2 separate regions of the Homo sapiens genome follow, and region 1 is linked to region 2. The links are contacts of gene promoters, found by promoter capture Hi-C in blood cells and fetal thymus (Javierre and others, 2016). All regions are on one chromosome and are shown on one strand. Each heading gives the region's core, a stretch centred on a gene start or on the middle of the fragment in contact. The rest is flanking DNA. Distances are from core to core; before and after follow the strand shown.

Region 1 (4,750 bases), core at 1,248-3,747, 550 kb before region 2:
ATGAAGAGGGAGGCAGGAATAAAACCAGAAGATCCTTGTATCTTGGAAGTTAAGCAAGAAAATGTTTTGGCCAGGAGGGCCCATGAGTGAAGTCGCCATGGTGACAGTCCCATGGATGCCCAGCAACATGGATATCCGCGTATCAAAACTGATCTAGTTATAGCCATTGGTAAATATCCAACCAGCTATTAATAGAAACCAACACTGAGCTCCCAATATGTTATCATCACCTCAAAAGGCTGTTGATCACTTGGTAATAAGTTGACCACATTGGACCTCTTACACTCTGGAAGAGCCAGCAATACTTTCTGACAACAATAGATAAATATTCTGGGATAGATTTGCCTTTCTACCCCCAAGGCCTCCATCAGCATCACTATCCAAAGGCTTACAGAATGTTTCATCCATAGACTGAGGATCCCACATAATGTCGTTTCAAATCAAGGCACTCACTTTATAGAAGGGGAGGAGTGGGCATACACCTATGACTACCTAATTTACTATTCCTGTCATACGGGATCACCCAAGAGTGAGTAGCCTGATAGAGCTTTGGAACATCCAGTTAAAGGCATAGCTGACATGTAAGCTCGGAGACAATACTTGACAACGATGGGAGGATCAATATACACTCTAAGTTAAAAAAGTTAATAAGGTGCTATGTACCCAGTAGGAAGAATAAATGGGCCCAGGAAGCAAAGTGTGCAAGCAGGAGTGGCTGTGCTTGCCATCACTCCCAAGTAATTGGTGCTTCCCATCCCTGCAGCTCTGATCTCTGCAGGTTTAGAGGTTCTGAGTCTAAAAGGGAGGATATGTCTCCCAGGGAATGAAGCAAAAATTCCTTTGAATTATAAGCTGACTGCCACCTGGGCACTTCAAGCTCCTTGTGCCAAGGGACCTGCAGGTAAGAAGGAGACACACCATCCTGGAAGCAGCCATTGATCCTAGTCATCAAGAAGAAGGAGCAGTGAAGAATATGTTTGACAACTTTGGTGGCCCTCTGGTGGATGGAAAAGTACAGTAACCTTGTTCGGAGTGATATGACAGACCAGCAGAGGTGCTGGCCAAGGATGAGGGGAATCTAGAATGGATAGTGGGGGAGGGTGATGGTGAGTATCAGTTGCAGCCTTGAGACTGGCTGGAGTAGCAGGGGCACAATTCACTCCCTTGACCTTCTCTGCTAAGTTGCCCCATGGAAAGTAATCCACTAGAATCTTAGAAGACCTGCTACGAAGTGGATCAAGATACATACGAAGTGGATCAAGCAGCACAAACTGTTCACTAGAGTAAACTCTGTGAGGCACTGCCCAGATTCCTCTTCAATGAAGGATTTGTTGTCCTGGTTGCCAGGAGTGCTGTTTGCAAACAACCTTCAGCTCTCAGCCCCTTCAGGGATTGCCTCGGCTTTTCAGAGTGACTTTGCTTAAAGTCATGCCCCTTCTCAGGACAGTTTACATGTAGTAATTGATTGACATGGGAGTATAAAAGCTTGGGCATCATGGCCCACCTCAGGGTAAATTTGAAGGTCTATTCTAGCTCCAGCATTCCCCTCATGGTCAGCCAAGGGTGACGTCAGGCTTGCGCCCCAGCTTCACTTCTCCCCCTTTCCAATCTGGTGTTCTTTCTCTCCTTTCCACAAGTATTAATCTTAAGGATTCATTTTAATAAGGATCCTGCATGCTAAACTCAGATTCTGCTCCCCAGGGAGCCCAAGTTGTGACACTTCCCTAATGCCTAATGACATCATTATTCCCGGGTGAGGATCCTCTTCACCCCACTGCTTATCTCATGTTCAAGGTTGAGATCAGTATCCTCCTTAGGGTTCTTAAGCTCTTGGTTTCAGCTCATGGGGTCCTTTAGTCATAGGATCTTCTCTGAGCGGAGATCCATCTGGCTTGGCACCTTCTCTCAGCCAATCTCAAACAACTACATTTACCCTTGCATTACTGTGATTAAAAAGTAGAGCCTTGGAAGCCAGATGTGGTGGTTTGTGTTTTTTATCCTAGTTACTCAGGAGGCTGAAGTAGGAGGATTGCTTGAGGCCAGGAGTTCAAGATCAGTGTGGGCAATGTAGCAAGACCCCATCTTGGAAAAAGTGAAAAAAAATAGGTGGGCGTGTTGGTGTGTGCCTGTAGTCCCAGTTATTTGGGAGGCTGAGGCAGGAGGATCACTTGAACCTAGCAGGTCCAGGCACTCCAGCCTGGGCAACAGAGCAACACCTCTTTAAAAAGACAAAAACAAAAAGTAGAGCCTTGAAATACCCTATCAATTTGTCCAGAAGTGACACAGTAGAATACACAGAAAGGGAAATTCAATTCAGTTAATGTTTATCAAACATTGTAGGAGGGTGGATGTTAAGGAGTAGGACATGGAAATGCAAGAAAAAAAAAAGAATCTAAAAAGTATGAAAATAAGTGGCCAAGTAGAAATTAGGCTTCATGCCATTAAAGAGAAAATAAAAATACTAAAACACCGAAGGCTGAGCACCAAATGGACACAGGGAAACATCCAGGACAGTCTAGACTTGAGGGAATGAGGTTCAGGGAAGAGAAATGGAATAGGTCTTTTAAAGACAAACTGTGAACTGTGTCTGTCCCATACTAGGAAAGCAAAGCCTCTGAGTGTTGCTGATTGACAAGCAATGTCTGAAATTGTTGGATAAACAAGTACTAGACTAGCTGGAGGTGGTCTACAGCATGTGTGGGATGCCTGATATAGGCTTATGACATTGGCTGCCTCTGGTGCTGACATGAGAGATACCTGCCTTGAGATTATGGTGTTCAGCTGACCTCTGCTTTGTATGCAAAGTGCTTGAGTTGGGATTATGCCACCCAATCTGGTCTGTACTGCTGTTGTACCAGGTGTTTCAGGGTTTATCGGCTTTCAATCTTTCGCTTTCCTGGAACTTTACACCTGCAACTCCCTCACCAAGGCCTTGATGGGAATACAGACCGTCAGCACTCTATGCCTAGATCATTGATCTAGATCCCTCTTAGCTTCCAGACTCTAACTTCTTTCTGCCTTAATTCTCATTACATTGAGTCTGTCCCTCCCTTACAGGCCCTTGCTTGTTTTTCAAATTGAATTAAAATTCCAGCTCCAAGGATTCACCCCATCCTCCCATGGAAAGCTCCTGCTACATTCTTGCCTGTGCATGTGCTTTCTTCCATTAGGCTGTCCTTTGTACCCTCAGGCTCTCCCTCTCTGAATCTGGGCCAATTCCACTTCCCACTTGCAATGGCCTCCCCACTTTTCTCACCATTTGTAATTGTAATTTATTATTTTAATGTTGAAAGGTGGGCTTATTGTGATTTTATGGAAGTTCAGCATAGGAATGGAGTGACTCAAAGGGTAATTGACCCAAGCATGGCTTATTTATCTGAAAGATGGCCTCATCACTTTGGAAAGGACACACATTCTGTGGTAAGAAAGGAAGGGATGACTTCACCTGAACCAGGGTCTGGAAGCTACAGCTTGTTCGTCTAATCAAGGCTGTTGCCTGTTTTTGTCAACGAAGCTTTATTTGAACACAATTGTGCTCATACATTTACATATTGTTTATGGTTACTTTCATGCTACAATGACAGTAGTGAGTAATTACAACAGAGACCATATGGGCCAGAAAGCCTAAAATTAAAATTCGGTATCTAGCCCTTTACAGAAAATGTTTGCCAAACCCTGACCTAGAGCTTTCTTGTTTATTTCGGCCTGCCTGGTCTCCTCCATTAGACTGCAGCCTGCTTGAGAACGTGTCCATATTTCCCCCAGTGCAACTTGTAATGCACTCCATACAGTGAGAGCATTGGATTCCTGATTGAATGACAGGCATTCATCCAAGAAACATTTTTAAGTGCACCAGATGAGCAGCAAAACCTAGAGATTATTTATATTTTATGTGGTGAAAAGGCTATTTCTATGCCGTTTCTTCTCAATACATTGATTTTTTTCTTTGTTTTACTCCACAAGGTCATTTTAATGTAATTTTTAAAAAAACCTTCAAAGTATGTTGAGATTTTTAAGGAGACATAGTCTCTTTGAGGAAAGGGACTATCTAGTTCACTGTTGCAGCCTCCATCCTACTACAGTGCTTGGCACAGAGATGCTCAACAGACATTAGTCAAATGAATTATGAATAAATGAGCTTCCTTTTCTGGTTGCAAATAATTTTATTTAAAATATGTTGTTTGAAAACATATGTACACTTGAATTTCACAATGTTCATAGCTCCATGGTTAATTAAATAACACCCCGGCGTATGTTTGTGTGGATGATGCCAACGGATTTGCAGGGAGATGATCTAAAAAGCAAGCATTGATAAAAGGAGCCCATTAGGCCAATTCTGTATATTGCGAAGAACCCCTCCCACTCCAGAACAAATAATAGTATTATGATTAAGATGAATATAAGCAGTCTCCGTTTAAAAAACAGGTAGTGTTTCAGAATTGTGTTTGTATGGCAAGACTTTGACCTACATTTCCTTACATAAACATTCTCAGAAGGAATGGCTAGATTCTACTCCAAAGAAATTATTGTGGGGAAAGGGCTTTGTTTGGAAGAAAAGGAATCTGGGTTCAATGATTCCTGGCTGTCATTAATCAGCTGACTTGGACAAGTCACTCTCTGTGGCAGTTTCTGATCTTTGCTTATTTAATCTGTTAAATGAGAGAAAAGCGACACAGGGACTGTTGGGATAATTAAATGTGACAAGGTACACGAATTGACTTTTACTATTCCTGGAACCTCGTAGATACTT
Region 2 (4,691 bases), core at 257-2,756:
ATAGGAACAGGCACTGAATCTGCTAGCACTTTGATCTTGGACTTCCCAGGCTCTAAAATTGTAAGAAATAAATTTCTGTTGTTTATCAGTTACCCAGGCTAAGATATTCTGGTATAGAACCCAAGTAGAATAAGACAACACCCATCTAACAGTAGACCAGCCTGTAGACTGTATCTGTGAGCTGTCTCACATCTAAGTTCCATCCTTTCCAACCCCAATGCCAATGCCAAGATTCACACTGGTCATCTCTTACCTGGAGGTTATAAGCCTGAGTGGTGTCCCCTCCTCTCGGTCTTCTCTTTTTAATGTGTCCTCATCCACATTGCTTGATCTTTCTAAAATATGATGCTCTCCAGCTTCAAAAGCTGCGCTGACTCCCTGTGAATAAAGGGATATTGAAACTCCAAAGCTTGTCCCAGAAGCCTCTTCCTAATCTACTCCTGCTCTAACCTCAATCTTACATATCCTCTGCCCTCTCTCACACATTCCAAGTTCAAGCCATAGCAGTTATTTACCATTCCTATAATGGACCAAGTGCTTTCACTTCACTAATCTTTGCACTTGCTATTTACCTTCAAGATCCAGATCCAACATACCACTTCTTTGACATCCTCTCTAATTCCTTTCACTCCCCAAGTCAAATTTGTCAAGAACCCTTTTGTTCCCTTTACACTATATACATGCCTATGGCAACCAGAAAGCCACAAGTACCAGTTTCAAATATTCTATTCTATTCACGCATTAGAAAGATAAAAGTCTGTGGACCATGCTCCTCAATTTATAGTTCCAAGGCCATAACCATATGTTCCAAAATCGTTATTAGCCTTTACGACATTTTATCATGATCTTCAGTTTGCATAACTAACCCCATACTTGAATTAAACTCCTAAAGGGCAAGAACCACATGTGTGTTCCTCTTTGTAGCCACATCTTTCTACCATGCTCACTCCTTCCATCCTACTCAGCTTAGCAGAGGAACAACTGGCCAGTTAGCAAGTTATAAACATCACTCTCTCCTGGGATGAAACCACTCCCACACCAGGGCAAATGTTTGGCAAATATAAGGAAGACTTGGTTTCAGTTCCCTTACCCTCCTGAGTAGGTACATTTGTGCAGTGCACAAACTGCCCAACTATATGTAATAGCCCTTGGACCTAACATGTAATAAGGGCAAAATATATATTTGCTGATGAATGAACTTGTCTAGGGAATATTCCCTACCTTTACCCCTCTTAAATTACACGAACCAGATGTGCCTATTATTTACATAGTTTTGGTATTGCACTATATCCAATAATCAAATATTCTTCAGCATGCCTTGATAAATTAATGTCAGGCTTCTGTCATCATGTTAGGAATAATTCACTTACGACACAGCTGGATTCAGGACTGGTTCAACAAATAGCATCAAGACTCAACATATCTTTTGGTTCTCCTTCTGCTATGTTACTTTCAGTCTTGGACTTCACATCTTAGCAGACAGAGGCAGCAGCTCCAGTTCCTAGATCCTCTCTAGTTTTAAGTCAACCTGAAAAATAGAGCATATCTTTCCAGGATTCCCAAGAAAGTTTCCTTGCTCTTCATTGGCTCTTGTTGGGTCACATGTGCATCTGTAAACTCACCACTGTGAACCCAGACATGTGATATGCTGATTCGCCAGCTTAAGTCACTTTTCGACATCTGGGGCTGAGACTGCCAGAAACATTGTTGAAATGGTGGAGGGGGCTATTCGTCAAAGGAAAATCTAGGTATAATTACCAGAAGGAGGAATGGATAGCAACCAGAAAAAACAATGGATGTCTGCCATCACTTTCTTCCACGTGATGGGCAAACTCTAGATGACCCCCAGTGATCTCCACCTCCTGGTGTTCTGCCCTTTTGTAATGCTCTTCACCCTTGAGGGTGGGCAAGACTTTGTAACATGCTTTTAACCAATAGAATATGTCAAAAGGGATGAGATGTCACTTCCACGATTAAGTTACATAAGATTGTGATTTCCTTCTTCCTACCAAACTCTCTCTATTGCCTTCTCAGCTTGCATGCTTTGATGAAGCAAGCTGCCATGTTGGGAGAGGCCCACATGGCAAGAAACTGAGGATGGCTGCCAGCTAAAAACTGAGGTCCTCAATGCAGTAGCTCTCAAAGTACTGAATTTAGCTAACTACTACATGAAAATGGATCATTTCCTAGTCAGGCTTTCAGATGAGAAATCAGCCCTGACCAATATCTTGATTGCATTCTTGTGAGAGATATTGAGACAATGGATCCAGCCATGTCCAACTCCTGACCTAGAAACTGAGATAACAAATGTGGGCTGTTCTAAGCCACGAGGTTTGTGGTAATACTGTTATACAATAATAGATGACTAGCGCACTTCCTTTTCTGCTCCCACACCCCTTTTAGAATCTCTCCCAGATCTACTTCACTCCCACCAGCCAGCACCCAGTGCCAATCTGGAGCAGCCAGAGGGCTCCCCTCAGGGGCCCCCATAGGCTCAGATGCCCTGGGAAAGGCCTAGTGCTTCCTTCTCCTCTTGTATCCCCTCACTTCTCCGTGTGCTGACTTCCATTTACCTTTCAGAGAAACCATCTGACTGGGCTAAGTATCACAGATTCCTCAGGACTTAACCCAAAAGAAAGGACATTGTTTCATTGACGATATCTGGGGCCCTTCTTAGCATCCCTTAAGTTCAACTACTTAGGGGAGTACTAGTTAACATAATATGAAGGTGCAGAACTAAAGGGTATACAAGCATTTTGGACCCCAAAATAATTGCTTCCTGAAAGAGATGCGACTCAAATGAATGTGTAGTCCTTGTTAATGGCCAATGACAACTATCTGTAGCAATGTAGTGATGTTGTCACCTGTTACAATTTGAGGTCCTCTCCTATCTGGAAGTTGCCGTGAATGGCCAGAGTTGACTACATGGTCCCACATCAGCCTTCTTTCTGTCTTCAGTTCCTTCCTATTCCCCTGCTTCGTTCACCCCTTCCAGGGTGGCACAGCTGCAGCCCCATAGAGCCCAGACTGCAGTTGCACTAAAGGAGGCTTCACAGAGCTGTACAAAAGCTTCCAGCCACCAAAGCACAAAGCCTTTCCTTCAGTCAGCCTCCACAGTCTCCCAGCTCTTAGGAGAGCCATAATCCTACATGACAGTCAGATTTATGCTTTCTTATGGGGCTTTTTAGGCTTATCCCAAACCCCTCTCTTCTCATACCATCTACAGTTTTTAGTCTGGATCCCTCTAGAACAGCCCTCAGGGAATAGGATTTACTAGGTTAACCCTAGCCACATCGCTTTGTCTGAACCCTGGGCTCTCTTCCTCTGTGGATTCTGTGATTCCACAGCTCAGTATAGTATTTCAAACACATTGCACTGTAAACCATGATACGTTTCATGATTAAGCACTAAAAAGAAGACAGGTGGTGCATTTATGGTAATTAAAGCCTGCTGCAGGCCGTGTTTTAGTGCGTACGACTGACAATGCAGGAACTACGACAGTCTTTGGTAAAGAAACAGTTCTGTCTGTCACATGGCTGTGGCTCATACAAGTTTTCAGACAGAGAACAAGATTGGAGGGAAGCTCACTCATCTTTATCTAACTGACATTTAGGTCATTTGGGAAAGTATATGCCACAAAGCATAATGCTTTCATTCATACTTAGGTTTCAATTAGTTCAGGACTAAGTTATTCATAGATTATTTAGAGATGTATTATGTCTTTTGAATTATTAATTCAAGATAAAACTCAATCTGTTAGGGGAAATTTTTCTACCAGAGTTTATTCTAGAAACCCTTAAACTGTTCTTGATCTCTGCAGATTTCTAAACCAATAAAGGGATTGCATTGAACCCCAAAGTTGTCTTCATTACAAATAGGAGTTTTAGATTCTGGGAAACAGAGTTGAAGTTCTCTTTCCAGTAATGACACATGCTGTCTTTGTGACTGTAAACATTTTCTCTTGAGGGTTGACTAAAATGAAGAACTCTTAGGATCTTTTTAGGATGAATGTCCATTATGTTCTTTGAGTGTTTTCAACATGAAAAAAAAAATCCTGAATTGATTAAATTCTGTTGACAATTCTAGAATGAAGATTAATTATTTTTTAGTGCAAGGAAATCCTTTGCCTTCATTCAGTTGTGAACAAAATATTTCCAAGCCCCTGTGAGGCTGGGTCATGAAATGATCAAAGGGAACCCAACAAAGTCTTGCTGTGGACCACACCTGAGATCAGGCACTTTCCCTCACTCTCCTTGCTGCTGGAGCCATGGCTTCATTTTACTCATAATACCTTTCGGGCATTAAACAATACTCTTGGAAATCCTCTTTTTCTCAGTCCTCTCTTCCATCTATGTGTTCTTCCTAATAATTTCATTTATTCCTATGACCCTGTTGGGGGTTGAATTGTGCCCCACCAAAATATATATGTGTGTGTGTGTGTGTGTGTGTGTGTGTGTGTGTGTGTGTGTATTAGAGTCCTAACCCCCTGTACCTCAGAATGTAATTTTATTTGGAAACAAAGTCCTCATGGAGGTAATCAAAATTAAAGTAGGTCATGAGGGTGGGCCTCAGTCTAATATGACTGGTGTCCTAACAGTCTAGGGGGAAATTTGGATACACAGACAGACATGCACAGAGAGAGCACCATGTGAAGATGAAGGCAGAGAAGAGGTTGGGGCGATGTTTCCACA

What was found. Contacts are between HindIII fragments. The CHiCAGO score rates a contact against its expected background, and 5 or more counts as called.
Region 1: a fragment that was not itself captured here is called in contact with the fragment with the promoter of LHFPL3-AS1 in region 2 in 2 of 17 cell types (M1 macrophages and naive CD8 T cells); the score reaches 5.3 in M1 macrophages.

The regions. Positions count from the first base shown.
Region 1 is chr7:104,251,599-104,256,348 of GRCh38, forward strand. No RefSeq gene overlaps it. Among named protein-coding and RNA genes, the nearest start is that of ORC5, 46 kb to the left of the region's middle. The HindIII fragment of the contact is 2,029 bases long and covers 1,484-3,512 here.
Region 2 is chr7:104,802,586-104,807,276 of GRCh38, forward strand. LHFPL3-AS1 (LHFPL3 antisense RNA 1) reads right to left here and starts at 1,507. Exons shown (of 4, transcript NR_034141.1): 1 at 1,371-1,507; 2 at 254-378. The region is part of intron 2 of LHFPL3 (LHFPL tetraspan subfamily member 3); the gene reads left to right. The HindIII fragment of the contact is 2,660 bases long and covers 408-3,067 here.